4 separate regions of the Homo sapiens genome follow, and regions 1, 2 and 3 are each linked to region 4. Evidence: promoter capture Hi-C in 16 types of primary human blood cells and fetal thymus (Javierre and others, 2016). All regions are on one chromosome and are shown on one strand. Each heading gives the region's core, a stretch centred on a gene start or on the middle of the fragment in contact. The rest is flanking DNA. Distances are from core to core; before and after follow the strand shown.

Region 1 (3,344 bases), core at 790-3,289, 470 kb before region 4:
TTCAAGCCACTGGCTGCAGAAATTTGCATAAGTAAAAAGAGGCTGAATAGTAATAGCCAAGACAATGGGGAAAATGTCTCCAGGGCATTTCAGAGATCTTCCCGGCAGCCCCTCCCATCACAGACCCGGAGGCCTATGAGGGAGAAATGGTTTTGTGGGCTGGACCTAGGGCCCTGCTGTTCTGTGCAGTCTCAGGACATGGCACTCTGTGTGCCAGCTGCTCCAACTCCAATTATGGGTAAAAGGGGCCAAGGAACAGCTCAGTTTGTTGCTTCAGAGGGTGCAAGCCCCAAGCCTTGGCAGCTTCCACGTGGTGTTGGGCATGCGGGGGTGCAGAGGACAAGAGGTAAGCTTTGAGAGTCTCTGCCTAGGTTTCAGCCTGCATGTCCAGGCAGAAGTCTGCTCCAGGGCCAGAGCCTGCATGGAGAACCTTTACTAAGGCAGTGCAGAGGGGAAATGTGGGGTTGGAGCTCCCACATAGTCCCCACTGGGGCACTTCCTAGTGAAGCTGTGAGAAAAGGGCCATCATCCTCCAGAACCCCAGAATGGCAGATCCACCTACAACTTGCACTGTGTGCCTGGAAAAGCCCCAGGCACTCAACACCAACATGTGAAAGCAGTCACAGGGGCTGTACCCTGCAGAGCCACAGAGGCAGAGCTGCCCAAGGCCTTGGGAGAACACCTCCTGTGTCAATGTGCCCTGGATGTGAGACATGGAGTCATAGGAGATTATTTTGGAGCTTTAAGATTTAATTGCTGCCCTGTTGGGTTTTGAACTTGCATGGAGCGTGTAGCCCCTTTGTTTTGGCCAATTTCTCTTATTTGGAATGGGAACATTTACCCAATGCCCGTATCCACATTGTATCTTGGAAGTAACTAACTTGCTTGTGATTTTACCTTCCCAGTAGCTGGAACTACAGGTGCATGCCACCACACCTGACTAATTTTATTTTATTTTATTTTTTGATATTTTTTTGTAGAGACAGGGTTTCACCACAGTGGCCAGGCTGGTCTTGTAAGGACTCTTGGATTAGATTTTTAAAGGCATCTCAATGCTAAGAAGCCAACTCAAGGATTCACCATTAGACTGTGCCTGTAATAACTGTACATTTGGTAGAAGGCCTCTCTTCTCAAGATCCTGGCCTCAAGTGATCTACCCACCTCAGCTTCCCAAAGTGCTGGGATTACAGGCATGAGCCACCATGCCCAGATACATCAGCATGCTTTTGATATTAATCTTCAAACTTTAGAAAAACTTATAAATAATTCCCTTCTAATTTTAGCCAACTTGATCACACATAAAATTCCTTTCCCAAGATTAATCTTCCACAAACCTTCTACGGCTTACTTAAACCTTCAGTTTTGTCCTATATTGCCTTTTTATACTGGTATTCTACCTTAGGACAAAAATTTACTTTTGCTTCCTTCTTACTATTTTGACTACACCAAGTTCTCCCTCATGCAAAAGAAAAAATTACTCTTTTCAACTTTCTTTACCAAAAATACATCTTTCTTACTTTTTTTTTTTTTTTTTTAGACAGGGTCTCTTGCTTCGTCACCCATTCTGTAATGCAGTGGCACAATCATGGCTCATTATAGCCTCGACCTCATGGGCTCAAGCAATACTGCTGCATCAGCCTCCTGAGTAGCTGGGACTACAGATGTGCATCACCATGCCTGGCTACTAAAAACATATTATAGAGATGGGGGTCTCACTATGTTACCTATGTTGTCTCAAACTCCTGGGCTCAAGCAATTCTGTCTCAGCCTCCCACAGTGCTAAGATTACAGATGTGAGCCGCAATGCCTGGCCCACATCTTACTTTCTTTGTGTACTCTGTATATAGAATTTTTTTTTATATCTTATAGTTTTAGTTATATATATATATAAACTACAATTTCAACTCTTAGCAACCCTAATATCTAAAGAAAGCCTAGGAAGTTAGTAATTTTAAGCTTACATACCAGTATTTGTAGGTGAAGCCCATTTCATAGTTTTTAGAAAGATACTCATCATTTTTTTGTTTATTAACAGATTGAAGTATATTTAGCCTTTCTATGCTATTATAAATGACTCACACATTTTATGATTATCTAATACTTAATGTAACATGACATGACTTTAAGCTTCTGAAAAAGATTTTAAAACTATGAAAATTTCATTTATAAACTTTTATTGCATTTTTATTTTATTTATTCATTCTTTTTTATTTTATTTTCATTTATTTTTTCCTTCAGATGAGATATTTATTCATTCTTATCAATTATGCTTGAACAGTTTCTTAAACAAAGCTAGCCATGAACTCAAGTTATTTGTTTGTTAATTGTTTTTACATCCTGTGAATGTTAGGCTACCTAGTATGTTAGCCACTACCTAAGCAAGAACCCTAAAGTTAAACACATGGGTATTCTGCTGTTTAGAAGACACTTCTGTTTTTATTAAAATAGCAATATTAAACTAGTCTTATTTACTAAAGATTTCCTAAGTTGTGTGAACTCAAAGGCATTTGAGTTTGTGTCTATTTTTCTGATAAAATATGTAAGTTCTTACTTTTACTTTAAGCCAATTAGAGCCCTTTCATATATTTTGATAGTAAAATTTCATGTACTCATGACATGTATAAGCATAAAAATATACAGACAGAATATACACAGACCATACACAGACAGAAGCAGATTTTATAACTTTATTAGGTTTTTCATTTGCCAATTCAAATAATTTCCCTTCCCCACTTTAGACTATCGAATCGTCAACAATTGTTAACTGGGTAACTTTAAATTTGCACTTACAAAGGACATGACTCTTAGGTGAAAATTTACATCCCAAAGGCACAGTATTTAGGTCTAAACACCATTATTTCATGAGACAAAGAAGGGCATAGGTAAAGGCCCAGTCAAGACAAGGTTGCCAGGAAAAGTGTCTTAAACAAGATAAGGTTTGTTAGGTAAACTCTAAGCCAAGCCTTCCCCATTGTAAAAATTTCTAGTGGTTTAAGAGCAGTGAGGGAGATGCCCTTACAAATGGAGATTTCTTGTATAGATGTAAATTTCTTTTACAAAGTGTTTGAAAATAGCCAGCTAAATGCCAGAAAGTCTTATTTTGGAGACAGTTACATAGGTATTTTCACTTTACCTTGTTTCTTAATTAGATTACTGACTTTAGGGTGCAGACTTTTAATGAATAGAGCAAAGAAAGCACTTGCAGTTTATTCTTCACATATTTAAGTATTAATACTTAAGTATGTGAAAGCAGGCACAACTGGAAGGCAGTGCATCTAGATCTTTAAAAATCAAGGACCCCATTTTTACATTGAACCTTGGATTCAAGGTTCAAGAAAGAGGGA
Region 2 (3,373 bases), core at 85-2,584, 430 kb before region 4:
TTGTATGCTTAAAGTGGCCTCAGAAAAGGACAGCAGAGAATTTAGGAAGATTAGCAACTGGACTGTCAGGCGAACTCAGGCTGTTGGCCTCAACTCCAAGAGGGAGCGCAGCTAGGCAAAAGAATACGGATTAAGCGGAAGAGGTTGGAACACCTGTCCAGGCCAGGTAGGGGAGGAGTTTCAATGCTGACAAAGAACCCGTTGGGAGAGCTTCCTAAAACACCCAGCTGTCATGACGCACTGAGGAGTACTCTACTAGTTGACTGTTTTGAAGTGTGTGTGTGTGCGCTTGCTTGCTTTAGGAGACAAGCTATTAATACTAAAGCATATGTTAGGGAGTTGCTCAGCGTACTTGATATCTAGTAGCACCAGCCAAACTAGCTAACAGCCTTTCCATGGAGATAGGCCAGGAAGTAGCTCCATAGAGAAAAAAGGAAGTAGTGGACCTGCCTCCAAGGTTCCGATACTGGGAGGTGAAAGAGATCTGAAGTTCCGAATAAGCTGTTTACACTACCAGAGAAAAATCTGGCTCCCATCCAACCCTCACCCACGAGGTGCCCATTCCAGACATGGGGCAAGCTGCCTTCTCATCTTCCGCAGGTGACAGCTCGGCTCACATTTGTCCACGTCTTCCATCTCGTGCGCTGGCAACATACCTAAATGATTACTGGAAGAGCTGCCTCTTTTTATAATTTCCTGACAGAATTTATAAAATTAAAATATTTAATTAAAGACAGAATCGGGGACATGTTGCCTTCACATTTGCTGTTCAACCTGTGCACATTTTGGTGGTTCCCAAGAATCGTCATGCCAAAGCATCAGGCTTGAAAGGAGAGATCACCTTAAGCATCAAGATTTAAAAAAATAAAACACAACTCTCCTCAGTCTAAACTCTAGGATTTGGATGACGCTTCCCTGTCAAGGTTTCTCCCGAGTGGAGGAGACAAGAGGCAGGAAAGGCAGGTAACTAAAATTGCCTCATGTAAAGGGGCTCAGCGCAGAGGAGGAATGAGATAATAGCGGCGGTGGGGGTCTTTTCCCTTCTCTCCCTTTCTATCTTGGAAACAGGGGTCCGACTGGCAGCGGAGTGGGGGCAGTCCAAGCTCCGGGGTACCTGCAGGAGGAGACTCGACCAGCGAGAGGGGCCAGCGAGGGTGACCAGGTGCCCGCTTGGGGACCCCGCCGGCGGTGGCCAGGCTAGCCCAGGTCCTCCCCGATCCCAGGATGCACTGCGCCCCGCCCCCTCCCCGCGCCGCGTTCCGCCTCCCCTCGGCCCCGGCCCCCTCCCGCCCAGCGCGGGGAGGCGGGGACGCGTCGGCGGCGGAGGCTTCTCCAGTCGCGTCTTTCTCACTCACTGGGGAGCCCGGCGGTGGCGGCACCTTTCGAGGTAGACCCGCTGAGCTGCTAGCCCGCCGGCCAGCGAGTGAGAGGTCGGACAGACTGTGGAGCCGACAGACTGAAGGACAGCGGCACCGCCAGACGGCCAGAAAGTTCCGCCATGAGCTGGGGCACGGAGCTGTGGGTGAGTCGGGGAGAGGGGCGCCCCGCACGGACCCCGGCCCCTGAGAAGCGCGGGTTGGGCGGGCGCCGCGGACCCTCGGCGGTGAAAGCGCGCTCCGCCGTCCTCGGTCCGGCGCTGGCGGAGGGTGAGGGTCCCGCTCGTCTTTGTGTGCAGACTCCTCTTCCCTTCTCGGCCGGGGGTCTAGGGGGCCGCTAGTCCGTGCTCCCGCCTTTGCCGCCGTGGTGCAGCTCGGGCGGCGCCCGGGACGGCCGGGGGAGCAGCCCGCGGGCTCCTGCGTGCGCCGTGATCCCCTCTTGTTCCTTCTCCCTCCTCCACCTTCACTTTTCCCGACGCCTGGCTTCGCGCCCGGCGGCTCCTCTCTTCCTTTGTATCTCTCCTCCCGGAGGCGGGGGAGGGGGCCCATTGTCCCCAAGGGGCGCTGTTCGAGGGCGGGGAGGGGACCGGCCGCGATTCCTCGCCCGGGCCAGGTCCGCGGGGCTAGGGCGTCGCCCGTCTGGGGCGGCGCCGCCCAGAGCCCTCGCCCCAGGTATGGGGACCCAGGCGGCTTTGTTCGGAGCCCGGCCTCGGGCCAGCCAGGCCCAGCCCACACGCACATTTCTCTCTCCCTGCCTCAGTGCTTCGGGCGGGCACAGCTTCGAGGGACTCCGGTTTGGCCACCCCCGGCTGCAGCCTTTGGGCTGGTGGGTTGGTTTTGGGGGCTGAATTAAATCGAGTGATCGATGAGGAAGCTAATTTTACCAAAAGGAGCGTACGGTCTCCCTGTTGCTTTACTTCCCTTTCCGTTCTTTATTCTCACTTGTTCTTTCTCCTTCGTTCTCTCCTTTCCTTTCCTCCTTGCCTTTCTTTGGCACAGGAGGCTCCAGACAATGCCCAGTGTCTGGCCAAGGTACGGGCGGAGGGTAATAGGTCGGAGAATTTGCTCCTGGCGCCGGCGCGGAAGGGTCGAGGTGTGGAGGGCAGTGATTTCTCAGGTGCGGAGGGCAGTGATTTCTCAGGTGCGGCCGGGAGAACTGGGGGCGTGGGGGCGCTGTCCCGAGAGCCGCCTGGCCTCAGCCACTCCCCTTTTTATTCCACCTGTGCCTGTTTTCCGTGCCTTTTGTTCGCGAGGATCTCGTGAAATCACTGCAGAGAAAGGGGAGAAATAACTTTTGAGTATGTGTGTGCCCAGCTAGGGTGGGAGTGAAAGCCAATGGGTTAATTGAAAGGCAAAATGTTTTCTTATTTTTCACGTCTACTCATAGATTGGGAATCTTAGAACTGTGAGACTTTAGAGTCCATCTAGTGAATGCTTTACTTAGCCAGCCAGGAATCTCTTGTGCAACATTCTGTACAAGTGCTTACCCAGTCTGAAAACACACCACCCAAGAGAAAATACCTTAGGAGCCCCTTCATTCCGTTTCTTAGATAGCATTAATTGTTCTTATATTGGGGAGGATTGCATGGTAAATGAATTACATAAAGTTTAATTCTTTTACATTGGTTAGTTTCTCAGGCATTATTGGCCTTTTTCCCTTACACTTTGTGCATTCTATAATTGATTATAGTGAATTATCAATGAAAGGAAATGGGTATAGTTTTATTTTAAATTTTTAAATTTTTTATTTTTTTCATGCCTACCAGAGTGCATTCATTCGTTTTTATAATTACAAAATATTTTAACTTTTGCCTACTTAAATGACTTGTGCTTCAAAGGAAACTAAAATGTAAGTAGAATACTTCTAAAAAGTAAACATAGGAAAACAGTGGAGGCATGTTATTTAGATTTAACTCTTAAGATTTTTAAAAAATTCACTTTGTATCACACTAAAGAATAACAGTTTTAAGGAAAAACATTTTAGTGAATAATAAAAT
Region 3 (3,376 bases), core at 65-2,564, 450 kb before region 4:
TCAAAAAGGAAAACAGTCATTTTAAAAATAAAGTTTAAAAAATGTATATTAGAAACCCTAAAGTAACCACTAAAATACAAAACAAAGAGTTGTAGCTAATAGGCCAACTGGAGATAAAATGGAATAATAAAAAATACTCAATCCAAGAGAAGTTAACAAGAAAAAGGGGGAACAGAAAACAAATAGGACAAACAGAAAACAAAAAGTAAGATGGTAGACTTAAACCCTACCATATCCTTAATTATGTTAAGTGTAAACATCTTAAACACCCCAATTTAAAGGCAGAGATTGTCAAGTTGGGTAGAAAAGCAAGACCCAACTATATGCTGCCTATAAGAAACCCATTTGAAAAACAAAGTAACAAATAACCTAAAAATTAAAAGATGGAAAAAAATCTCATGCTAACACTAATCAAAAGAATACTAGGATGACAATATTAATTTCAGACAGAGTAGATTTCTGAGCAAAGAATATTGCCAGTGTTAAAAAGAATCATCCTAAATCCAGGTACAGTGATGTGTGCCTGTAACCCTAGCTACTCCAGATGCTGAAGCAAGAGGATCACTTGAGCCCAGGAGTTTGAGACCAGCCTGGGCAACATAGTGAAAAAAAAGTTAAAAAATTAGCTTGGTGTGGTGGCGAGTGCCTGTAGTCCCAGCTACTCAGGAGGCTAAGGTGGGAGATCACTTGAGCCCGGGAAAAATTGAGGCTACCTTGAGCCATGATTATGCCACTATACTTTAGCCTAGATGACAGAGTGAGACCCTATCTCAAAAAAAAAAAAAAAAAGAAAAGAAAATGAGATAAAACAAAGGAGTCAATTGGTCAAGAGAACTTAGCAATTCTCAATGTTTATGCACCTGATAATTAAGCTTCACATACACAAAATAAAACTGATGGAACTGCAAGGAAAAATATATAAGTTCACAATTATAGTAAGATACTTTGGCATCTTTCTCATTAGAATTTAATAGAAGAGATAAACAGAAAATCTGTAAAGATATTGAAGATTCAAACACCATAAACCAACTTGACCTAATTGAAATTTATCAAATACTTCACCCAACAGCAACAAAATACATGTTCTTTTCTAATATCCACAAAACATTTACCAAGATAAGTCATATTCTGATCAAAAACCGAGTCTCAGTAAGTTGAAAATAATTCAAATATACAAAATATGACAACAAGAAAATTAAATGGAACTCAACAACAGAAAGATATCTGAAAAATCCCCAAATAGGTGGATATTAAACATAAATAACACACTTCTAAATAACTCAAGTATCAAAAAGGCAAGCAAAAGAATGTTAGAAATTATTTGAATTGAGTAAAAAGAAAAATTTGTGAGATGATGCTAAAGCAGTGCTTAGGAGGAAATATATAGCATTAAGGGCATATATATTTTAAAAATTGTTTCAAATTAGTGACCTTAGGAAACTGTAAAAAGAAGAACAATTCAAATCCAAATCAGCCAAAGAAAGTAATAAATATAAGAGCAGAAATCAGAGAAATGGAAAACAAATAAGCAAGAAGAATAGAGAAAATCAATAAAGCCAAAAACAGATTGAGAAGATCAATAAAATTGATAAACCTGTAGCCTGACTGATAGGAGACAAAAGAAGATACACATCACTAATATTGAGAAGGAAAGGGTGACATAATTATAGGTTCTATAAACATTAAGAGGATAATAAGGGACTATTATAACTTTTTACTAATATATTCAACAACTTAAATGAAATAGGCAAGCTACCAAAGCTTACTCAAGAAGAAATAGTAATATGCAAAGTTTTATTTTTATTAAAGAAATCAAATTTTTAATTAAAAATTTTCCCATTAAGAAAACTCCAGGCCCAGATGGCTTCACTGTTGAAGTCTACCAAAATGTAAAAGCAAAATAATAACAGTTCTACAAAAATTCTTTCAGAAAATTGAAGAAGAAGAAACTTCCCCTAATTCATTATATGAGACTAGCATTCACCCGGTACCAAAACCAAACAAAAACACAGAAGATAATGAAACTGTATGCCACTGTTCTTCATGAACATTGAAATAAAATTCCTCAACAAAATGTTAGCAAAATAAATCCCGTAATGAATACAATGGTTAATATATTCTGACCAAACTAGTTTATCCCACAAATGCAAGACTGGTGAAAAAAATTAGAAAATTAACCAATGTAATTTAATCTACACACACACACACACACACACACACACACACACACACACACACACACAAATTCTTCTCAATAGCTGAAAGAAAAACATTTGACAAGGTCTTACATTCATTCCTAACGAAAACTTTCATCAGTGTAGGAATAGAAGGGAATTTCTTTTACCTGACAAAGTCCATATATAAAAAATTTACAGCTACCGTCATGGTTTATCATGAACAACTGAATGCTTTCTGTCTAAGATTCCAAAGAAAGAAAGAAATGTCCATGCTCACCTCTTTTTCTTTGACAGGTTCTCGCTTTATCACCCACACTGGAATGCAGTGGCGCTATTATGGCTCACTGCAGCCTTGACCTCCTGGGCTCAATTAATTCTCCTATCTCATCCTCCCAAGTAGCTGGGAATACAGCTGTGCACCAGCATGCCTAGCTAATTTTTTTTTTTTTGTATTTTTGGTAGAGACAGGGTTTCACCACGTTACCCAGGCTTGTCTCAAACTCCTGGGCTCAAGTAATCCTCTTGCCTTGGTCTCCCAGAGTGTTGGGGTTTATAGGCATGAGCCACTGGATGGGTCCTCCATGCTCACCTCTTCTATTCAACATTTTATTAAGAAAATAAAAAGAAGTAACAGTATATAAATTATAGAAGAAGAAGGAAAATTTTATTTGGAACAACAAAATCATCTAGGTAGAAAATCTTAAGGAACCCCTCAAGAAAGATAATATAACTATATAACTAAGAAGTGAGTCATCATTGAAGTATATATAATGTACAAAATACATAAAAATATTAACCACAGTCAGGAATCAAAATTCTACAACCTATACCATTTATAATAACATTGAAAAAAATTTTTTGAGACAGTGTCTTGCTCTGTCACCCAGGCTGGAGTGCATTGGCATGATCTTGGCTCTGCCAACTTCACCTCTTGGGTTCAAGTGATTTTCGTGCCTCAGCCTCCCAAGTAGCTGGGACTACAGTCATGCGCCACCACATCTGGCTAATTTTTATATTTTTAGTAAAGACAGGGTTTCACCATGTTGGCCAGGCTGGTCCATAACTCATGGCCTCAAGTGATCCACCCACCTTGGCCTCCCAAATTGCTGGAATTACAGTCATGAGCCACTGCACCCAGACTAGAAAATTTAAAATATTTAGGAATAAATTTAATGAAAGATGTTGAAAACATGCACACT
Region 4 (3,228 bases), core at 136-2,635:
ACTACTTTCTGGATGCGCTTGAATCCCATTAGCAGCAAAACTCTGCAAACCAGAGAAAACACACTGTAATTTAGGTAGGGCTGGAACAAGGGCAAAGCAAATGAAATACTGACCCCAAAAGCTAAAACCCAGTAAACAAGATTACCTTTAAAACAAAAAACAAAAAAACCTGCCCAACTCATGATTTTTAAAAAATCAAAATTTGGCCGGGCGCGGTGGCTTACGGCTGTAATCCCAGCACTCTGGGAGGCCGAGGCAGGTGGATCACGAGGTCAGGAGTTCGAGACAGCTTGGCCAACATAGTGAAACCCCATCTCTACTCAAAGTAAAAAAATTAGCGGGGCGTGTTGGTGCGCACCTGTAATCCCAACTACTCAGGAGCCTGAGGCAGAAGAATTGTTGGAATCCGGGAGGCAGAAGTTGCAGTGAGCCGAGGCTGCGCCACTGCACTCTAGCCTGGGCGACAGAGCAAGACTCCGAATCAAAAACAAACAAACAAAAAAATCAAAATTTAAACACTGGAGCCAACCCTGCATTTACTTCACTAGCCTCATCCTTCCTAGATGTAACTTCAGAAGCAGAACGATTAAAATTTTTCTGTTTAAAGTCAAATATAATGGGTAGACCAACATTCTGACCCACCTATAGAAGAGGGGAGAAAGGGAATATTAACTCTGAACACCGATGTGTTTAGGAACACACTGATGGAATCAGTCGCCGCCCTTACCTTTACGTACAGGAAAAAATCGCCGCCGCTCCGTTCCCTGCATCGCTGAGTCAGAATGAGACAGCCGACTAACGCCACTAAGAGTCACCAGGCGACGACACCACAGCCCTCCTCACGCCTTAAGGAGGTGATGCTGGACAGCTGCCAGCCTCCCCACGTGAAAACGAAGCTTTTTTTCCAGCCCCCCTAAATGGGGCTTGTGCATGGTGGCCGAAATTAACCCTCCTTGGTACCGTGTTAACAGTAAGGTTTAAAAGTTCGAACTGTGCTTCTGCATTAAGGAGTTGAACGACCCAAATAAAGTTATCTAACCTCTCTTCCATACTAAAAATTGCCTTAAGAGACAGTGGTGAAGGCTAAACAGTTTCCGTGACAGGCTTAGCACGGGGCCTGGGAGACCCAAGCGCGCGGCAAGCTCGGGTCCTCTCTGTCGGCAGGTCCTCACCCTTAACCGGACCCTTGCGCCGCCCCGCCTGCCTGAGCGCGGCTCTGCGAAGCGGCGAGAAGTAGGGAAGACTGGATTTCCTACCTTTTGCCCGGAACTTTCAGCCGACGCGGCTTGGATGCTGGCCTTAGCCCGTGCAGATCTGGTAACCACCATCTTTCCGGCTCCCTCGCGACCACCACGACTTCCCTCTTCCCTGGCGCTCCGGAAATGCGTCAGAGAACTGCCTCGAGCGCGTTTTCCGCGCAGATCCGAGAATTCGCGAGAATCTCCGCCCAGCCAGTTCAGGCCAGGGCGGTCAGAGACAAAGGGCCTGGGTTTAAGTGTGCATTTCAGAGCTGTAGAAGGCAAGCCAGATTTTTGCTGGGAAAGACCTTCATCGGGGCGGCGAAGCCCGCAGTGACAGAGGGTCTTAGCGTACCCGTTCACATGAATTGTAAAAACGCACTTACATGCCATTCGTTCTTTCATTTGTTTAGTAGAATCGTTTGAACCCGGGAGGCGTTCTTTCATTTCTACGTTCTAAAGAGCTTAATGTAGCCATTGGTATGTCCAAGGGAGAAGTTTGAGATATTTGTGCTTTTTAAAGAAAGACAATATTTACTCGTGTATTGTGACGCTAACTATAAATAAAATTTAAGGACTTGGTTGGGGTAAAAGGGATATAAGGTGCTCGCAGGAACTGGGAGACGAAGTGGAAAGCTGTATAATCTAAACGTGAGATGGTGTTTAGGGATTGGGAATAGCAGAAAAGAAAAAAACGTTAAAGAAATTGTAAAGGAGAAGAATAAGGTTTTGTTGTTGTTGTTGTTGTTGTTATTGTCACAGTGAAAGGAAGAGTATGACCAGAATCAAGAGGTTTCTTTGGTTATCTTTTGAGATAAAAGGTAGAGAACTATGTTTGAGGGGATGGGAAGGGGTTGAAAAAATAAGTAAACGCAAATTATTGTTGGAGGTGAGAAAGGATGAATGAGTGCCTCACCAAACCTAGTCTCTACTTCATGACAGAAAACCAATTTTTTATTTAAAGTCACAGAACACTGTGTCGATGGACACACTGCTTCCCAGCTTAAAATAGCTTATTTTATAGTCTCTCTTGCAGCCAAATGTGGCTATGTGACTACGTTTTAGCCAATTAGGTATAAATTGTGTGCATGTCTTTAGGGACGGCATCTAAAAGAGAGGAGGCCGTCCCTGACTTTTTTTTTTGGAGACGGAGTCTTGCTCTGTCGCCCAGGGTGGAGTGCAATGGCGCAATCTTGGGTCACTGCAACCTCCGCCTCCCGGGTTCAAGCGATTCTCCTGCTTCAGCCTCCTGAGTAGCTGAGATTACAGGCGCCCGCCACCATTCCTGGCTAATTTTTTTTTTGTATTTTTAGTAGAGACGGGGTTTCACCATGTTGGGCAGGCTGGTCTTGAACTCCTGCCTTCAGGTGATTCACCCGCCTCGGCCTCTCAAAGTGCTGGGATTACAGTGCTGGGATTATAGGCCTAAACGACCTCGCCCAGCCCTCCTGATCTTTTAAAGTGCATTTTACTTCCTGGAAAGTTGGGTTCGCTGGTTTTCAGGCGGCAAGTTTGTGCCATAAGGATGAAGGCATGCTTTAGAGATGGCATAGCAGTGAGATGGAAAAATCAACTTGTGGAGCTGCCCTATGAGCCCTCAAGAGCCGCCTTCTAGATTTTTCACCTGATGGAAACACCTTGTTAAAAGCCACTGTTAATTAAGGATTTTTCTATTTGCAGCCGAGCCTAATGCTAACTGAACTGGATAATAAACAGAGATGTGGGTGTAGTCAGAAAAGAATGCACCTTCCTTTGAGCCAGGAGGAAAGAGTTGATATCTGAAACAGAGAGGAGAATGTGAATGCAAGTATGTTCAAGTGGAGTGAAGAAGAGAAGATTTTGGGTAGATAATAACCTCTGTAAGTAGGTGATACATCTCAGAAGAATGGAAATGGTTTATATCAACATTTGTGGCAAATGTGGTAAGAAGCAAAAATAAATTTTAGTAGGGCCAAGTAGCAGTGAGACTATGTAAGAAGATGAACAGAAG

What was found. The method cuts DNA at HindIII sites, captures the fragments that hold promoters and counts their contacts. A CHiCAGO score of 5 or more calls a contact.
Region 1: a contact is called between a fragment that was not itself captured here and the fragment with the promoter of DNTTIP2 in region 4, in 1 of 17 cell types (M1 macrophages). The highest score is 8.7, in M1 macrophages.
Region 2: a contact is called between the fragment with the promoter of FNBP1L here and the fragment with the promoter of DNTTIP2 in region 4, in 15 of 17 cell types (M2 macrophages, M0 macrophages, monocytes and 12 more). The highest score is 34.9, in M2 macrophages.
Region 3: a contact is called between a fragment that was not itself captured here and the fragment with the promoter of DNTTIP2 in region 4, in 5 of 17 cell types (M2 macrophages, M1 macrophages, M0 macrophages and 2 more). The highest score is 12.6, in M2 macrophages.

The regions. Positions count from the first base shown.
Region 1 is chr1:93,408,265-93,411,608 of GRCh38, forward strand. No RefSeq gene overlaps it. Among named protein-coding and RNA genes, the nearest start is that of FNBP1L, 38 kb to the right of the region's middle. The HindIII fragment of the contact is 171 bases long and covers 1,955-2,125 here.
Region 2 is chr1:93,446,784-93,450,156 of GRCh38, forward strand. It overlaps FNBP1L (formin binding protein 1 like), which reads left to right and starts at 1,335. Exons shown (of 17, transcript NM_001164473.3): 1 at 1,335-1,522. The coding sequence starts at 1,499. RefSeq lists silencers at 209-503, 1,443-1,492 and an enhancer at 984-1,962. The HindIII fragment of the contact is 14,675 bases long and covers 1-3,373 here.
Region 3 is chr1:93,428,227-93,431,602 of GRCh38, forward strand. No RefSeq gene overlaps it. Among named protein-coding and RNA genes, the nearest start is that of FNBP1L, 18 kb to the right of the region's middle. The HindIII fragment of the contact is 889 bases long and covers 871-1,759 here.
Region 4 is chr1:93,877,821-93,881,048 of GRCh38, forward strand. DNTTIP2 (deoxynucleotidyltransferase terminal interacting protein 2) reads right to left here and starts at 1,386. Exons shown (of 7, transcript NM_014597.5): 1 at 1,257-1,386; 2 at 1-42. The coding sequence starts at 1,328. RefSeq lists enhancers at 1,112-1,541, 1,393-2,208. The HindIII fragment of the contact is 5,310 bases long and covers 895-3,228 here.